Linked DNA regions of Homo sapiens: regions 1, 2, 3 and 5 are each linked to region 4. The links are contacts of gene promoters, found by promoter capture Hi-C in human tissues and cell types (Jung and others, 2019). All regions are on one chromosome and are shown on one strand. Each heading gives the region's core, a stretch centred on a gene start or on the middle of the fragment in contact. The rest is flanking DNA. Distances are from core to core; before and after follow the strand shown. Region 1 has its middle 14 kb from the start of IFI6. Region 2 has its middle 69 kb from the start of SLC9A1. Region 3 has its middle 8.2 kb from the start of KDF1. Region 4 holds the start of MAP3K6 (mitogen-activated protein kinase kinase kinase 6). Region 5 overlaps FAM76A (family with sequence similarity 76 member A).

Region 1 (3,681 bases), core at 487-2,986, 320 kb before region 4:
GGCAGATGCAGCTGACAGCCATAACTTAACTGAAGCGTACCCTGAGAATGATCCTAGGGTCTAAGAAGAATGTGTGTTCGGAGTCCTGAGCTAAGGAATCCGGGAGTGGCCAACCCAGAGTTTCACTCCTTATCTATGAAGGACATCTGAGCCCCTGGCTCATTCCTTGGAACACAGGCCATACAGGGGATGGAGTCCCTTTTTGTGGATTAACTGGAGGTTGCTGGGTAGAGGTTGCTAGGTGGAAGGTGCTAAGTGAAAATGCTGTATCAACTGCATGCGTTTCATAAAACGCATGCCCTGTTTCATAAATGCATGCTCCTGTCCAGCCCACCACCACTGGACCATCCCTGTGTGTAAGTTCCCCTCAGTAAACCCTAAGTCTCATTCACTGGTTCCGGCCTCTAGGACACAGTGCCATCCCTATTGGAGTCAACAGGAGTCCTGCATGACAATGCCTATTACCCGGGTCATGATAAATGCTGTGGTTCAGGCAGCCTCTTTTGCATGGGCACCTCATGTAACCTTACTACTGCAAAACTGAGCTATAGTCAGAGAAGCCTTATCAAATTTGCTACCTCAGCTTCCCCTCCTGGGTCTTACGGATGGTAATGAAAACATTAAGGCAACTAACAAGAGAATAGGTAATGGGAGAGGGGAGAATCAAAGGATTTCTCCCACGAAGGCAAACATTTTTAAATGGTTATTAAGAAATAAGGCAAGAGCCACTGGCACCTGATGCCTCCCGGAGTTCATGTCCCTTCTGCCTTTCCAAGGGGTGCTTCTGTCAGACTGGCCAGGGGACAATACCCTGTTCCAGTTGAAATTTATGGTGAAGCAGCTGGAGAAACCAGACAAGAAGGCAGAAAAGCACTCCTACGCCAACCAGGCCAAAGTGAAGAAGTCCCTTCAGCAGAAAAATGTAGAGTGCACCCGTGTGTACACCAAGAACACCATCTGCAAGGAGAACAGCAGCGTGAACTGGCTCTACATGGCATCCGCCTGGACACAGTGGCCCCCGAGGTGCAGACAGCTGTGACCATGAAGGTGGTAACCAAGAACATGGTGTAGGTGACCAAAGCCCCAGACAAGGCCTGAACACCACGGACCTGCAGAAGGCCTCTGCAGCGATGGACAGGTTTGAGTAGCAAGTGCAAAACCTGGCCATGCACACATTAGTGATGGAGGATTCCATGAGCTCGGCCGCCACACTGACCATGCCTCAGGAGCAGGTGGACAGACCCATTGTGCAGAGCGCCAAGGAGAATGGCCTGGAGGTCCTAGACCAGCTCAGCCAGTTGCCCAAGGGTGCCTCTGCCGGGCGAGAGCTCCGTGTGAAGCCAGGAGGAACAGCTGTCAAGGGCGTTAGCCGCCCTGAGGAATTAGCCGCACCCTGCCGTGGGCACCGCCTCTGCTCTGTGATGTGCCGCAAGGCTCCTGGCCTCCTCCCCTCCCCCCGGCATCTTGCCTTTTTGTTGATCCTGCAGAGCTGCAGCTGGCAGCTACTGTCGCCCAGCTCCTCTCACCTGCCTGGCCTAGGTGGCCCTGGAGTTGTTCCTGTTTTCTTAGGTTGGGCGGTGGATCTGTGTCCTGGTGTTGAGTAGGGGTGACTTCTGTGACTCTGGGGCCAACAGCTGGGAGGTCAGCAGGCTCTCTTTTGCTCTCTGTGGAGTCGATGGGGTCTGGCCAGTGGGTGCCATGTAAACTTTTGCTCAACACTGCGGGGACCTTCAGACTCCGTGATAGGAGACATGCTGCTCACTGTCAGCCAGTGGGGGTCAGGGCTGCCCTGTTTTCCAGGCAGCTCCTGGAGAAGGCCTCTCCACGCACCCTGCCCCTACCACCAATGGGCAGGAGGTCCCACCATGTGAACGGACACAGCCTGAAGAGGCACCAGTGGCTCGTGTGTGCTGGGGAACGTCAGGTGCCACCCAACACTGTCTTGGTGGCATTTACAGATGATGACCCTCCCCCTCTTCCTCCTCTGTCATTCTAGGGGTGGGGTCTGGGCTGCTCCTGACAGCTGGCTGAGCCTCCCTGGGCCTCCTGCCCTCAGCTCCCCTGGTTCTTAAAGCTGCCCAGTCCATGGGGACAGAAACTTGCCCAGCTCCAAATCCAGGAGTTTCCACCCTGGGGTCCTCATCCTTGCTCATCTGCCACCTCTGGAGGTGCCTTGGGCTACATGGGCTGTGCTGTTGTGTCCCCTCAGCAGGGGGTCTGTCCATGCACTGGCCAGAATTGAGCATGTGCGTGGGGCCTCCTCGGTGATGCTGCCTGTGTGCCAATCTCTTCTGTCTCTCTAAATAACTGGGTGCCTCCCCCGACTGCACCCCATCCTACCTTCCCAGCGTGGAAGCCAGAGTGGCTGGTGAAGGGAGCTTAGGAGAGTCACCTTCAGCTGGGCCAGTGGCTCTGTGAGGAAAACCTGTGCTGTGGCCACGCGGGCACCACCAGCTGCAGCTCATCAGGAGGACTCGGAGAGGGGGACGGCAGAGAGAGGGCTTTGGGCACAGCCTGCTGTTTTGTTTTTTCTGTTCCCTAAAGTTTACTTCATTTTCTTGAAGCTTCCAGGGTTTTGTTGTTGTTTGCCAAAGTAGAAAGGACAGGTGGCAGGCGGGGAGGGTGAGTCCCAGCCCCTCCTCTGCACCAGGGCTGCCGCGGTGTCATGGCTCTTATGAAGGGAAGCATAAGACCCTCACTCAGTGCGTTTGGTTTTCTTTTCAGGATTTCAGAGCCCCTGGGAGGAGATCCCATTGGTGGGTCTGGACATGCGGAGGTCAAGGCACCATCTGGCCATGGTCCTCTCCAGCCTCCCCAGAAATTGACCCACATGCTGGGTGTTGAAACAAGGTCCCTCTATCCCTTGCAAATAACAGCTTTGGAATTAACAGCTTTGGGGAGCTACCTTGTCCTCCCAAGGGTGCAGGGCTCCACAGAGCCAAGGGCCAGGCAGGGGCTACCTCAGCCCTGTCTCCTTGGGCACCAAAGCAGGGATTTGTTGAAGGAGAGAGCCATGTTTGCCCTTTTCCTAAAATGCTGCTGTAAATAAACAGGTCCCCCAGCAAGCAAGGAAGCAAAGGAAGGAAGGAAGGAAGGAAGGAAGGAGAAGGAAAGAAGAAAGGAGAGAGAGGGAGGGAGAGAAAGAAGAGAACACTGATAAGGGTGAAACTAAGAGGAAAAAGAAAGGGGAGAGTCATGAGACTCGTCTGAGCAGGATGGAAATCCTTAGATGGTTATTAAGAAATAGGATGAGTAAAATAAAAATTAATGAGGTTTTAAAAAAGGAAATTAATGCAGTGAAAACAAATGTCTTTTTTTTTTTTTTTTTTTTTTTTTTGAGACAGAGTCTCGCTCTGTCACCCAGGCTGGAGTGCAGTGGCATGATCTCAGCTCACTGTAACCTCTGCCTCCTGGGTTCAAGCAATTCTCCTGCCTCAGCTTCCCAAGTAACTGGGATTACAGGGACCTGCCACCACGCCTGGCTAATTTTTGTATTTTTAGTAGAGATGGGGTTTTGGCATGTTGGCCAGGGTAGTCTTGAACTCCTGACTTCAGGTGATCTGCCAGCCTCGGCCTCCCAAAGTGCTGGGATTACAGTCATGAGCCACTGCGCGTGGCCAAAATAAATGTCTTAATACAACACTATTGAAGGTTGGGTGGACCAAAGAGAGTCTCTGATGG
Region 2 (3,727 bases), core at 1,154-3,653, 280 kb after region 4:
AGGAGGTGCTGGTGTTCAAAGTTCTATCCAAATGTCCCCATCTTGGGATCTGTTCCTTCTTAACCAGTGCCCTTCCCTTAGCAGAAGAGACTGAGCGAGGTTGTGCACTTAATTGGCTCCGCGACTCTGTGATCCTCACAGTCAGAGCCTGAGCTTGGTTCTCAGCCCCATCTGCCCTGTGGCTGGCAGAGACCAAAGATACTTTCAGAGCCACCCTAGGGCCTTTCGGAATCTCCAGCCTTGCACTGAGTCGGGAATTCAAGGCTTTCAGTCTGTTCCTTTGTGTGTGTTTCTAGGGCAGTCAAATGTACAGTCAGAAGCCCACGCCACAGTCTTTGTCACTATTTCTTAGTCATTATTGTCGTCATATTGACTAAATGCCATAGCCACTTGATCTCCCAACATCAAGCCACCACTGGTCATAAAGTAACTAACTGTGATGCCACTGTGTGCCATAGATGACCATTGTCCATTACCCCATGTCAAGGAGGCTATTCACGCACTAATCAAGAAGCATGAGCAACCCAACCCCAGAATCCCTTCCAAGGATCTGTCTCCCAGAGCTATTCTGGTACCAATTATTGCAGCAATCAGGGCCCTGGGTGGAAACAGATGGCACATTCAAAGGGGTATTGTGGGTTTGATGAAGGGACTCTTACAAAGTGCTGGGCAGAGTTAAAGGAACCAAGAAAGGCTGGTGAAGCCTGAAGGGTCTGCAGCAGCAGGAAGCTCTTACCAGCCGGGGAGCAGGGAAGGTCCTGGAATCTGGTGAGAGCTGGAGCCTGGGGAGAGGTCAGCCTCTAGGCCCAGCGCAGAATGGAGAAAGGTGAAGAGGGCACCTGGACTGGCAGGAGGAACATATGACCCAACACCCATTTTACAGATAAGAAAACTGGGCTGGGTGCAGTGACTCACACCTGTAATCCCAGCACTTTGGGAGGCCGAGGCAGGCAGATCACTTGAGGTCAGGAGTTTGAGACCAGCTTGGCCAACATGGTGAAACCTGTCTTTACTAAAAATACAAAAATTAGCTGGGGCGCATGCCTGTAATCCCACCTACTCAAGAGGCTGAGGCAGGAGAATTGCTTGAACCCAGGAGGCGGAGGTTGCGGTGAGCCAAGGTCGTGCCACTGCACTCCAGTCTGGGTGACAAGAGTGAGACTCTCAAAGAAAACTGAGGCTCAGCTGCCCCATGCAATTTGACAGATAGGTCCAGAGCACCTGCTGTGTGTGTGTGTGTGTGTGTGTGTGTGTGTGTGTGTGTGTGTGTGTTGTGTGGCGGGGGGTGGTGTGTGTCTGTGGTGTGAGGTATGTGTGGGGTGTGTGTTTGGTGTGTGGTGTGTGGTTGTGTGTGTGGTGTTTGGTACGTGAGGTGTGTGTGTGGTGTGTGGTGTCTATGGGTGTTGTGTATGCTGTGTGTGTGTGTGGTGTGTGTGGATGTGGTGTGTGTGGTGTGATATGTGGGGTGTGTGGTGTGTGTGGGATAGGCGGTGTCTCTGTGTGTGATGTGTGTGGTGTGCAGGGTGTGTATGGGGTGTGTGGGGTGTGTGTATGTGTGTAGTGTGTGGTGTGTGTGGTATGTGGGATGTGTGGTGTGTAGTGTGTGTGGTGTGGTGTATGGATGTGGTGTGTGTGGTGTCTGTGTGTGTGGTATGTGGGGTATGTGGTATGTGTGTGGTGTGTATGTGTGGTGCAGTGTGTGGGCTGTGTGGTATGTGGTGTGTGTGTGGTGTGGTGTGTGTGATCTTTGTGGTGTGTGGGGGTGGTGTGTGAGGTGTATGTGGTGTGTGATGTGTGTGTGGTATGGTGTGTGTTGTGGTTGGCAGAATTGTAAGATGGCCTCCAAGATTCCTGCCTTTTGTTGTACAAGACATGTATAATCCCCTCCCCTTGACGGTATACAGGCAGAACCTGTATGGTGGGATATTGCTGTGATTAGGTTACATTATATAGCAAAGGTGAATATTGCAAATATAATTAAGGCCCCTAATCAGTTGACTTTGAATTAATCAGAAGAAACTCATCTTGGTGGGCCTGACCTAATCAGGTGAGCCTTTTACAGAGCGCTTTACTGCTGGCCTTGAAGGAGCAAACTGTCCTCTTGTGAAGGGGGTCACATGTCAGTGAGCAACTGGTGGCCTCTAGGAGCTACGAATGGCCCCTGTTGGCAGCCAGCAAGAAAGTAGAAACCTCAGTCCTCCAATTGCAGGAAACTGAATTCTGCAACAACCAATAAGCTTGGAAGATGACCCTGAGCCCCAGCTGGGGTCACAGTCTGGGCTAGTTCCTTGATTTCAGCCTGGTAAGATGCTAAGCAGAGGACTCAAAACATGCTGGGCTTCTGACCCACAGAAACTGTGACACAATAAATGTGTTTTTTGTTTGTTTGTTTGTTTGTTTGTTTGTTTTTGACGGAGTCTCGTTCTGTCACCCAGGCTGGAGTGCAATGGCACAATCTCGGCTTACTGCAACTTCCACCTCCTGGGTTCAAGAGATTCTCCTGCCTCAGCCTCCCAAGTAGCTGGGATTACAGGTGCGCGCCACCACACCTGGCTAATTTTTGTATTTTTAGTAGAGACGGTTTCGCCATGTTGACCAGGGTGGTCTCAAACTCCTGACCTCAGGTGATCTACCCACCTCAGCCTCCCAAAGTACTGAGATTACAGGCATGAGCCACCACGCCTGGCAAATGTGTGTTCTTTTAAGCCACTAAGTTTGTGGTAATGTATTACACAGCAATAGAAAACTAATACAGCCATTAGTTTACTTTTGTTTTGTTTGTGTGTGTGTTGGGGGTGGAGAGTGGATATTAGAAATGTTTTTAAAGTGGTGGGAAATGACCCAGTAGAGAAGGAAACACTTTGATAAAGTAAAAGAGGTAGAGATTCAGAATCAAGACATTCTGAGGCCAGGCACAGTGGCTCACATCTGTAATCCCAGCACTTTGGGAGGCTGAAGCAGGAGGAGCTCTTGAGTCCAGGAGTTCAAGACAAGCCTGGGCAACATAGAGACACTGTGTCTCTACAAAAAACAAAAGACAAAAAAACATAGCCAGGCATGGGTGGTGGCCCATGCCTGTGGCCCCAGCTAGTCAGGAGGCTGAGGTGGGAGGGTCGCTTCGCCCAGGAGATTGAGGCATGATTGCACCACTGCACTCCAGTCTTGGTGACAGAGCGAGACCCTGTCTTAAAAAGAAGGAGAAGGAGGAAAAGAAGGAGAAGAAAGAGAAGAAGGGGAAGAAGAAGGAGGAGAAGAAGAAAAGAAGAAAGAAGAGAGAGAAAAAAAAGACACCCTTGAGAGAAGTAGGGACAACATCTCCAAAGTAGGAAGAAGCAGATGGGTTTGCAGATTTTGTGGAGGAAAGATGAAAAGGTGTCTGTGTGACTGAAGGCATTAATTCTCTCAATAAATAGTCAGGCAAGGTTACCAAATCAAATGAGAATGAATCTAGAAAGGGAAATAGGAAATTTGAAGAAAGAGGAAAAGAAGTGAAATAGTTACCTTGAGAAAGAGGAGAAGAAAGAAACTGTTCGTGTTAGAAAAACAGTAGAGTTTTCCGTGTCGAGTCCCTTTGATGTTTGAGAACAGTGGCACTGCTCAGCTCAGCTGTACGAATTTGTCAGTGATCTTCAGATACTTGAGTGCAGGCACCAAGACAGATGGGTTTTGCCAGGCAAATAAGATGAAGTCAAAGAGGGGTTATGGAGTTCCAGGTATTGGCAAAGAG
Region 3 (3,663 bases), core at 776-3,275, 400 kb after region 4:
TGGCTCACACCTGTAATCCCAGCACTTTGGGAGGCCAAGGCGGGCAGATCACGAGGTCAAGAGTTCGGGACTAGCCTGACCAACATGATGAACTCCTACTCTACTACAAATACAAAAATTACCCAGGCATGGCGGTGCACACCTGTAATTCCAGCTACTCAGGAGGCTGAGGCAAGAGAATCACTTGAACCCAGGAGGTGGAGGTTGCAGTGAGCCGAGATCGCACCACTGCACTCCAGCCTGGGTGACAGCATGAGACTCCGTCTCAAAAAAAAAGATTAAAAGAAGTCCCTCTCCCCCTTGCTCACTGCACTCGGACAACACTGGCTTCCTTCCTGTTCCTCTAACATGCTGAGCTTATCCCAACCTCAGGGCCTTTGCACCAGCTGTTCACCCTGCCTGGAACACTCTTCCTCTCGGTCTTTCCATCTAGGTCTTTCCATTCTCAGCTTAAATGTCTCCTCCTCAGGAATGCTATCTATAGAAGAGGAAACTGAGGCTCGGAAAAGTGAGGTCATTTCCCAAGTTCACACAGTTAGGAAAAGGCTGGACCAGGATTCCATCCCAGGTCTGTTTGACCCTCTCTCCAGGGCACTTTCTCCCACATCGATGGTTTGGGAGGCAAAGCTGGTGGTCATGGGCTCCTGAGAAAGGGGAAGAATTGGAGGGGCCTCCTTCACTTACCCCCTCCATAAACACTCCCAGCCAGAGCCTTTGGGCTCTGCCCTGGCTGGGTGCTGGGGACTCAGGGATGAATCAGAACAGACCTTGCCCACTGGGAGCTTCAGTCTGAAGGCAGGAAAAGCAGCAGGGGAGGTCAAGATCACTTAGGGACCCAGATGGCCTTGACTTAGCATAGGGGACAGCCTTCTAGCTGGGGGCTCTCTAGGAAGGCTTCCAAGAGGCATTGGCTCTTGGAAGTGACATTGGCTGGGGTGGGCAGAACGTAGGGGGTGGTGTTCAGTGGCCAGAGCTGCAGTGCTCTCTCTGAGTGACCAGGAGCCTCAGCTTGGCCATGTGTAGCCTTTCCTCTGTGTGTGTGTGTGTGTGTGTGTGTGTGTGTGTGTGTGTGTGTGTGTGTGTGTAACAGTGAGGGAGTAGTATGGTGGGGGATGAGGGTGCAGCCAAGAGAAGGGCTGAATGAATAAATGCATTTCACTGATGTAGAAACTAAAGCCCAGAGAGTCTGAGTCACTTGTCCAGGCTCACAAAGCACCAAGCAGTAAAGGCAGGATCTGAACCCAGGTTTAACCTGACACCACACAGAGGCAAGTGAGGAAGCAGAGGTCCATATTCACCAAGGCCCACCCCTTACTCACTATGTGACCTCAACTAAGCTCGTTCCCCTCTCGCACCTCATTTTCTCATTGGCAAATTGAGGGGGTTGGGTGAAGCTTCTTTTGGCACAAGGACTCTGGAAAATACTTTTACTAGGGACTTGGAACCAACCAGCAGATCCTGCCTCAACCTGGCACAAGATAGGGTTCCTCAGCCTGCAGCTCCCTCTAGGCCCAGCCAATGGGGTGCAGCACTGGCACAAGACAGAGAACCCCAGGAATCCCTGGGGGCTCCCGTCTAACAGTGCAGCCTGGAGTTCCAGGGGGCTTCCCCTGCACCTCTCTCCACAGCTCTCACACAGTACAGAGCCCTGTTCGCTTGCCCCTCACCCCCTTCACCGCCACCCCCACCCCACAAGCGTAACAGTTTTTTTTGTTTGTTTTGTTTTGTTTTTTGAGATGGAGTCTCGCTCTTGTTGCCCAGGCTGGAGTGCAATGGTGTGATCTCGGCTCACTGCAACCTCCACCTCCCGGGTTCAAGCGATTCTCCTGCCTCAGCCTCCCAAGTAGCTGGGATTACAGGCATGAGCCACCATGCCCAGCTAATTTTGTATTTGTAGTAGAGATGGAGTTTCTCCATGTTGGTTAGGCTGGTCTCGAACTCATGACCTCAGGTGATCCGCCCACCTCGGCCTCCCAAAGTGCTAGGATTACAGGTGTGAGCCAACGCAGCCGGCCTCTAAGGACCCAGTTTCTGGGGGGCCCAGAGGAGCCACTGCAAAGAGCTCAGGCTCTGAACCAGAATGAACTTGGGCTCAGCTCTAGGCTCTGCCACTTACTAGCTATGTGACCCTGGGCAAGTGGTTTAAATCTCTGAGCCTCTGTTTTCTTAGCTGTAAAACAGGAGTTTGAGATCTGTTTACTGAGTTATTGTGAGGATTTTTTTTTTCGCTTGGGGGACAGGGTCTTGCTCTGTCACCCAGGCTGGAGTGCAATGGCATGATCACTGCTCACTGCAACCTTGACCTCCTAGGCTCAAGTGATCCTCCTGCCTCAGCCTCCTGAGTAGCTGGGACCACGGGCGTGCATCACCATACTGGCTAATTTCTTTTCTTTCCTTTTTTTTGGCAGAGACAAGGTCTTGCTGTTTCCCAGCCTGGTCTGAACTCCTGAGCTCAAACGATCCTCCTGTCTTGGCCACTCAAAGTGCTGGGATTGCAGGTGTGAGCCACCCTGCTGGCCTTATTATGGGGATTAAATGGAATAAGGCACATAATAAACCTAACATGTTGTAGGCAGTCGTGGTCAATACCAGTAATTTGCTCAGCTTATTCTCAGAGGCAGTGGTCTTGCCTTTGAGAGTCCCAGCCCCAGAATGGCGGGGCAGGGAGCCAGAGGGTGGGGTGTGGAGGTGAGGAAGGGGGTTAATATAAAATAGCTAACATCTGTTTAGCACTTACCATGTGCTGGTCTCGGTTGTAATCACCACATGAAGCTATCACCCACACTTTACAGATGAGGTGTCTGAGGCACAGAGGAGTTCAATAACTTGGCCAAAGGAACACACAGCAAGTACGTGTATGAGCTGGGGCACGAGTTCAGATCCTATGGCTCCAGAACTCACACTCTAAACCACTGTGTTATCTTACCTCATGTTAAAACCATTTTTGGATGAGAAATGCTGAGGTCCAGGCCAGGCGTGGTGGCTCACGCCTATAATCCCAGCACTTTAGGAGGCCGAGGTGGGTGGATCACCTGAGGTCAGGAATTCGAGACCAGCCCGGTCACATGGTGAAACCCCATCTCTACTAAAAATACAAAAATTAGCTGCACGTGGTGGCCTGTGCCTGTAATCCCAGCTACTCCAGAGGCTGAGGCAGGAGAATCGCTTGAAGCCAGGAGGCAGAGGTTGCAGTGAGCCAAGATCGCACCATTGCACTCCAGCCTGGGCAACAGAGCGAGACTCCGTTTCAAAAAAGAAAAAAAAAAAAAAAGGAAATGCTGAGGTCCAAAGAGGCTAAGTTCACACCACAGCTGAGCATCTAGTATTCCAAGTCAGAACCTGTGACCCTGAAGTTCTGGCAATTTCCACTGTTGTGTGCTGTCCCCTAGTGCCCTTATGGGAGAAGCACACCAGAGGCAAGCAGCAGATACCCAGGGAAGGAAGGGAAGCAGGTCCACTGAAGCCGGCTCCACACACCACTGCCTACATTCCCCTGACCCACGGCTCCTCCACAGCCCCAGCGCTGTACGTGTTGCAGCTCCTAAACAGCACTCCAAAATGGCATCCATGGATACAATGGTGATATGTCTGGGCTATCTTACAGACCATCAAATTCAATAGGTCTAACACTACGTTTGCATTCTTACACCCCAAACTGGTCCT
Region 4 (3,723 bases), core at 532-3,031:
GCTCTGCCTCCCAGGTTCACGCCATTCTCCTGCCTCAGCCTCCCGAGTAGCTGGAACTACAGGCACCCGTTACCACGCCCGGCGAATTTTTTGTATTTTTAGTAGAGACGGGGTTTCATCATGTTAGCCAGGATGGTCTCAATCTCCTGACCTCATGATCTGCCCTCCTCGGCCTCCCAAAGTGCTGGGATTACAGGTGTGAGCCACTGCGCCCGGCCGCTTTTTTTTTTTTTTTTTTTTTGAGATGGAGTCTTGCTCTGTCGCCCTGCCCAGGCTGGAGTGCAATGAGCCAGAGGGGCATACAGTGGAAGGATTAGAGGAGATCCAAGCATCCATTGACAATTTCCCGAGGCCCTCTGGGTCCTGCAAGTGGATGGCTTTGTGGCAGGAATTGCACAATTGCATAGCTTTTTTTTTTTTTGAGATGGAGTCTTGCTCTGTCGCCCCGCCCAGGCTGGAGTGCAATGGCACGATCTCCACTCACCGCAACCTCCATCTCCCAGGTTCAAGTGATTCTCCTGCCTCAGCTCCCAAGTAGCTGGGATCACAGGCAGGTGCCACCACACCCAGCTACTTTTTTTTGTATTTTTAGTAGAGACGGGGTTTCACCATGTTGGCCAGGCTGGTCTCGAACTCCTGACCTCGTGATCCACTCATCTTGGCCTCCCAAAGTGGGATTACAGGCATGAGCCACCGCCCTGGCTGGGAATTGCACAGCTTTCTCAGCCTGTCGGTTGCCCATGCCTGTCCTTTGTAAGTTGTCTGTTTTCCACTCCAGCCTCTGTTGCAGGCCAAGTTCTCAAACTCTACCACTTCCTGCCTATCTCATTGGGTGTCAGTTCGAATCCAAGGTCAAACCAAGGAAGGTACCTTTTTCTTCCACAAGGCAACAGGGCAATGAAACAGCCATTGAGTAGCATTTAAGCAGTTTATTTGCCCAAAGCCACATTCTAGTAAGTGGCAGAATTAAATAGTTAAGAGTCTGACAGGCGGTCCTGGGTTTGCACCCTGCTGTCATGTGCTGAGTGATCCTGGACAAGTTATTCAACTTAAGTCCCCAGTTCTTGGTTTCAGGGTCCACTGAGGCTTCTACCAGGTTGCTGCCTCACTCATTAATTCACACAAGAAAGTTGGGGACTCTTGGGGATTTGAAGCTGAGAAGCTGCTGTAGTGCAAAGGGCTGGGGTTGACTCCTTCAAGGGGTGGCTAAAGAAATGTTTAGAGTTGTTTAGAGTAGGAAGTGCTTCTCAGGTCCCATGGCCACGTTCTGCCTAGAAGTCAAAGGTCAGCGGGGGTCCACAGCAGGTTGGGTCCTGGGGAAAGCAGCCCCCTAGTGACAGTTAAGGCTCAGATGCCAAGTCCCACTCCAGGACTGAAGGCTTTCGGGCAAGCGGCCTAGGGTGTAGGTTTCCCCCATCCCAGTCCCTCCCTGCCTGCGCTCACTGGGCCCGGGAGGACACCCATTGTTCATCATGCTCTGCGCACCCTGATGTCTCTAGAGAGCCATTCATTCAACAGATACCTGCAGAGCAGGGCCTGCATATCGAACCTTTTCCCTAGCCCTGGCCTCCTCACACATTTTATGTGCACTTGCTGTGAGCAGTCCACAGTCTTTGGCGTGCACAGGGGCACAGGCTGTTCCGGAAGCCGCCAGTCTCCAAAGTTCTGGCGGGAGAGAAGGGAGGGGAGAGGCTGAGTCTCAAGCCGCTAGGGAGCGGCTCTGCCCCAGGGCCGAGGGTGGAGCTTTCTGGGTCGGCCGGGAAAGGGCTGGGCTTAGCCTACAAGTGAAGGCAGGGCAGCGTTGGCGGGCGCTCCCTTGAGAAGTCCAGGTGGCGGGCACCTCCGAGCCGATTCCCAGGATCCCCCAAGTGGCTCTGAGCTGCCGATCACCGGATGCCCCAGATTCCTGGGACCCAATCCCGGATTTCAGAACCTCAGGACCTTGCAAGTCCGAGCTAGGATTTCTCCCTGGACTTTAGATTCCTGGAACGGGACGTCAGGCCGTATTCCGGATCCCTAGATCCCGTGGGAGATTCTCCGATTCCGAACGGATTCCAGATCCCAAGATTCCTGATCTGCCGGCCCAGGCTCCTGCCCCGCCCCCGGTTCCCAGTGCGCGGCGCCCCGCGCCTGAGCGCCCCCGCATGGCGGGGCCGTGTCCCCGGTCCGGGGCGGAGCGCGCCGGCAGCTGCTGGCAGGACCCGCTGGCCGTGGCGCTGAGCCGGGGCCGGCAGCTCGCGGCGCCCCCGGGCCGGGGCTGCGCGCGGAGCCGGCCGCTCAGCGTGGTCTACGTGCTGACCCGGGAGCCGCAGCCCGGGCTCGAGCCTCGGGAGGGAACCGAGGCGGAGCCGCTGCCCCTGCGCTGCCTGCGCGAGGCTTGCGCGCAGGTCCCCCGGCCGCGGCCGCCCCCGCAGCTGCGCAGCCTGCCCTTCGGGACGCTGGAGCTAGGCGACACCGCGGCTCTGGATGCCTTCTACAACGCGGGTGAGAGCGCTGGGGGCGGGGCCGGATCCGGGCGGGACTCAGGGTCCTGGGAGGGGACCAAGCCGGGCTCGAAGGCTCAAGGGAGGGGCCGAGAGGGGTACCGGGTCTAGGGGACTTAAAGTGAGCTAAAGCTGAAGGGCTTGGGACAGGGCCGTGAAAAAAGTGGGATTTAGGGGATCTGGGGCGCGGCCGGGCTCGGGACGAGACAGGGATCCGGGCGCGGCTCTAGGGCTCGAGGTTGGGGCTTAGGCACCCTTCAGTCGGAGCGGTGCCCAGCCAGCGGGGCAAGGATGGGGAGGGGCTTTGGAACTCTGGGGCGGGGCGGGGAGCGGCGCGGGGCTGTGGTGTCTCAGGGGTGGGGTTGGAGAACTCAGCCTCACCCTCAGGAGAATGTCACGCGGATCTCTTGAGGACAATTACTGGGAGAGGAGCTTGGACTTAGGGAAAGGGGCCGGGAGGCTGGAGTTCAGGAGTCCTAGCATACTATTTCCAAGGATCGGGCTAGGAGAGGCAAAAAGAGAAGCGAAGGGGCCCGACGGGACTGGATACTGGGTGAGGGAGCTTAGGTTAAGTGGCCTCAGCGGCCCAGAAAGAATGGGCGGGGAAGGGGCGGGGAAGTGGGCGGGAAAGGATGGCTCAGGGGCGGGGCCAGAAGGAGGCTATTCCCCCGCGAGTCACTCCTCCCTCCAGCCAGCCCGGATGCTCGGCCCCCATACTTACTTGCTTATGCTAGAGTCCAGTAGCTGTGCTTCCTGGATGTCCATGAAATCGTAGCCTAAAATGAAGGCTGACCCGACCACTCGGACACAAAGATACAATTATCGACAGACACAAATCGCATACATGTTGACTCATGCAGGCCCTAGCAGACGCTGTCACACACACAGATACAGTCAGACATAGTAAGCTATACATGTCACAGATATACACATACATACATTTAGGCACAGCGTTGTCTATGCACACTGATGGTAGCCCCTTTCAAGAGCCTGTGCTGAAGACCAAAGGGAGGGGACTTCTATGTTTGCGCAACTCCCACCTCCTAAATGGCCCGTAACAGACTCAACTGGTCCACAGCCTCCCTTCCCCCATGCCAGGTGCTCACAGGCTCTGAACCGTGGCCTGAGGGTCCCAACCCAGTGAGCCCAACTCCTCTCCTGCAACACTACAGAGATCAGTTCTGTGAAAGTGCCAGGGGAACCCTAAAAAGGGCCGACTGAAGCCCAAAGCAGAACCAGA
Region 5 (3,414 bases), core at 763-3,262, 390 kb before region 4:
ACCAGCCTGGCCACCATGGTGAAATCCCGTCTCTACTAAAAATACAAAAAAATTAGCTGAATGTGTTGGTGCGCCACCTGTAGTTCCAGCTACTTGGGAGGCTGAGGCTGGAGAATCACTTGATCCCAGAAGGCAGAGGTTGCAGTGAGCCGAGATCATGCCACTGCACTCCAGCCTGGGTGACAGAGCATGACTCCATTAAAAAAAAAAAAAGTTTTTTTTAAATCAAGGAACAATGGTGGTGTGGTGGTGTCCAATATTCCACTAAATGGAAGCCCCATAAGTACAATAACTTGGTTTTGTCACTGCTGTAACCGCGCTGCCTAGCACAGTGCCTATCACAACATGAGCACTTACACTGGGTAAACAGAATCACCAAGAGGCTGGGTGTGGTAGCTCATGCCTGTAATCCTAGCACTTTGGGAGGCTGATGAGGTGGGTGGATGGCTTGAGTCCAGGAGTTGGAGACCAGCCTGGATGGCAAAACCCTATCTTCACAAAAAATACAAAAATTAGCTGGGTATGGTGGCGTGCATCTGTAGTCCCAGCTACTTGGGAGGCTGAGGTGGGAGAATCCCCAGGAAGTCGGGGCTGCAGTGATCTACTTGCCACTGTACTCCAGCCTGGATGACTGAGTGAGACTCTGTCTCAAAACAGTCATAGAAGAGAGAAAGAAAGAGTTTATTCTCTAATGGACAGGAAATTCCCAATTAGCAGTTAGGCTTTTAATTTTTTAAGTCTATAAGCAAGACAAACTTTTCTAGGCTGAAGGGCTGAAGGGGATAACGGGGTATGTCTACTGGTAAACAGCAAGAAATAAAAACAAAATCCAACAATTACACTTGAGTCAATATGAATTTTTATTAACACACATTTGTCAAAGTCTGTACAAACCAAAACATTCCTGTGTTTTAAAATGTCCATTATTACAAACATACAAAGAAACAAAAGGTGTTACCAAAAGTTAGCTACTCAATTTCATGGTAAAACAGTGTCATGATTTTTAAAAATCAAAATTTCAAGACTGAGGTTTCTTCTTTCCCTTTTTGGAACTTATGGAAAGTTAGAAAACGTGTGAATTTGCTTTATATTAAATGCCAAGACCTTAAAAAAAGATTTAGTATAAAACTAAGTATGTTTTTATATTGTCATACATCATGTAACAGAATTTCAGTCCTTAAAATTAAAAAAAAACACCATGACTGTCATTTCCCCCTAATTTTTCTCCCATAGTCAATGCAAATGCATCTGAAAAATATTATGACAGTTTATCTTTACCTAAAAGCTTCTCATTCAAAAACTTTACAAAACTATTTAGCACTGCCATTTCCCTTGCTTAGAAGGGAAAATTATATCCCCTAGTAGGGTGATATATAAGCGACATGGTCCACTGTATCCCTTATCAGAAGGAAACCACCATTTCCACATCTCTGTCCAATTATGTGTAGGACTCCATTTATGAGAATGCTATCACAAATTATAGAGCATCTGCTTCCAGGAAACGCCTAGAAGTTAAATTTAGTACTATAATTTTTTGGTAGACTGAGGTACAAATGTTATCTGCCCTCATTATTATTTCTAACTCTAGTACCCCCTGCATAAATGATTCTAGGGTAGTTGGTTTTGTTGTTTCATGGCACACATGACACACCCTAATTCCTTTCACAAACATCACATAGAGGACCTGAGAGTATGCCTAGAAATGTAAATCTATCCCCTTTCCTGGAAAAGTAAATCCATATTCCTACAGGGTTAAGAAGGGAAGATAGGCAGGGCATACATAACTCTGGTTGAGGCAAAGTGCTTCTGAGAAGCACCTGTTTTCAATACATATCCATGAAAAGCAGGGAGTGTATGGGCTCGGGTGGGTGAGGAGTGGGGAGAAGGTATAGTGATACCACTTTTCCCAGACTCAAGAGTCCTTACTAGAGCAGCTCATGCTGACCCCAAAAATGCTCTGTAGTTCAAATATTATTCCTTTTTTTTTTTTTTTTGAGACGGAGTCTCACTCCATTGCCCAGGCTGCAGTGCAGTGTTGCGATTTCAGCTCATTGCAACCTCTGCCTCCCGGGATTCGAGCAGTTCTCCTGCCTCAGCCTCCTGGGTAGCTGGGATTACAGGTGCATGCCACCAGGCCCGGCTAATTTTTGTATTTTTTTAGTACAGATGGGGTTTTACCATGTTGGCCAGGATGGTCTCAAACTCCTAACCTCAAATGATCCACCCGCCTTGGCCTCCCAAATTGCTGGTATTACAGGCGTGAGCCACCGCACCCGACCATATTATTCCATTTTTAATCTGTTCATTCATGTAAAAAAACATTCTCTGACAGCAGCCCAGTATGACAACTGATATAAGCAAATAAAGGATTTTATTTTTTAAAGAAGTGGCAGTGTGAGAATTTAAAATCAATCACATAAAACAATCAGGAAAGGGGTGGGGAGAGAAGTGTCCAGTACAACCTGGACAACCTTGCTTTCTGCCCTTACTTAAAAAGACAGACGGTTCAAATCTTTGCTACCTCCCTTAAGTATCTCCATAAATGCTCTTCCAAGAAATCCTCCAAAAGGCACTTAGCTCCATACTTATGCATTGAATTGTTTCACCTTAGCAATCAGTTTTTAAGACTCCAAGGTAACAAGAAAGAAAAGATCTGATTCTTTTACTAAAAGCTAGTGAATAGGACTGTTTTTTTTTCAAGAGGCATCACTTTTACAAGAACTAGCTAGACCACCATTATTCCTTTATCAAGAAAAAGTTTCTTTTTTAAAAAATAAATAAAACTCTGGCTATACATAGTACAAAGTTCATACATAATACATCTGGAAAAAAACCGAAGAGTATACCCTGAAGCAAAAGGTTTATTGGAGAGAGAAAGCCTCTTCCATTATACCAAGTCTGAAGATGGCAGTTTTCAAAGTTCAGAGGGTGGCAGTGATATATAATTAATGCCAAACTGTTTGCTCATGGGTATGGCAGGATGCAATGAAGGACCAAAAAAAAAAAAAAAAACAAAAAACAAATCATTCTGCACATTACACTGAGCAGTGACCACCACAAAAAAAAAAAAAAAAAAAAAAAGAAAAAAGAAAAAAAAAGAATAGAACCAAAATAGAGAGAAGAGGAAGAAGAAAAAGAAAAGTCCTAATAGTGAGAGAAAGAGAGCGAGCTTGAAATCCCAAACACTCAAGCATGCAGTCTAACACAGCACAAACCAGGTGTTTCCATTCAGCCCACTGCAATCGCACAAAGAAGGATAACTGTAATAAAATAGAGATTTCTTAAGAAAGCTTGCAATTCCCACAGAACAGCCAGGTCTCCAACCCTAACCCTGGACAACTCCATTTGCTGTTGCTAGGGAGCCTCCTTGAGGTCTGTCATGGAGAGGTTATAGCTCCTGACTTCTCTGACTTC

The links. The method cuts DNA at HindIII sites, captures the fragments that hold promoters and counts their contacts. A contact is called where the count stands out against the background at its distance.
Region 1: a contact is called between a fragment that was not itself captured here and the fragment with the promoter of MAP3K6 in region 4, in 1 of the 25 tissues and cell types used here (liver).
Region 2: a fragment that was not itself captured here is called in contact with the fragment with the promoter of MAP3K6 in region 4 in 1 of the 25 tissues and cell types used here (lymphoblastoid cells).
Region 3: a contact is called between a fragment that was not itself captured here and the fragment with the promoter of MAP3K6 in region 4, in 1 of the 25 tissues and cell types used here (neural progenitor cells).
Region 5: a contact is called between a fragment that was not itself captured here and the fragment with the promoter of MAP3K6 in region 4, in 2 of the 25 tissues and cell types used here (dorsolateral prefrontal cortex and mesenchymal stem cells).

The regions. Positions count from the first base shown.
Region 1 is chr1:27,684,514-27,688,194 of GRCh38, reverse strand. It overlaps the pseudogene CHMP1AP1. Among named protein-coding and RNA genes, the nearest start is that of IFI6, 14 kb to the right of the region's middle. The HindIII fragment of the contact is 4,176 bases long and covers 1-3,681 here.
Region 2 is chr1:27,084,575-27,088,301 of GRCh38, reverse strand. No RefSeq gene overlaps it. Among named protein-coding and RNA genes, the nearest start is that of SLC9A1, 69 kb to the left of the region's middle. The HindIII fragment of the contact is 7,329 bases long and covers 1-3,727 here.
Region 3 is chr1:26,966,810-26,970,472 of GRCh38, reverse strand. No RefSeq gene overlaps it. Among named protein-coding and RNA genes, the nearest start is that of KDF1, 8.2 kb to the right of the region's middle. RefSeq lists a silencer at 3,042-3,663. The HindIII fragment of the contact is 6,129 bases long and covers 1-3,663 here.
Region 4 is chr1:27,365,019-27,368,741 of GRCh38, reverse strand. It overlaps MAP3K6 (mitogen-activated protein kinase kinase kinase 6), which reads left to right and starts at 1,781. Exons shown (of 29, transcript NM_004672.5): 1 at 1,781-2,484. The coding sequence starts at 2,145. RefSeq lists enhancers at 915-1,856, 1,857-2,800 and silencers at 2,053-2,162, 2,193-2,412, 2,483-2,532, 3,123-3,192. The HindIII fragment of the contact is 34,431 bases long and covers 1-3,723 here.
Region 5 is chr1:27,760,545-27,763,958 of GRCh38, reverse strand. FAM76A (family with sequence similarity 76 member A) reads right to left here. Exons shown (of 9, transcript NM_152660.3): 9 at 843-3,414. The coding sequence ends at 3,378. Among named protein-coding and RNA genes, the nearest start is that of STX12, 11 kb to the left of the region's middle. The HindIII fragment of the contact is 6,157 bases long and covers 1-3,414 here.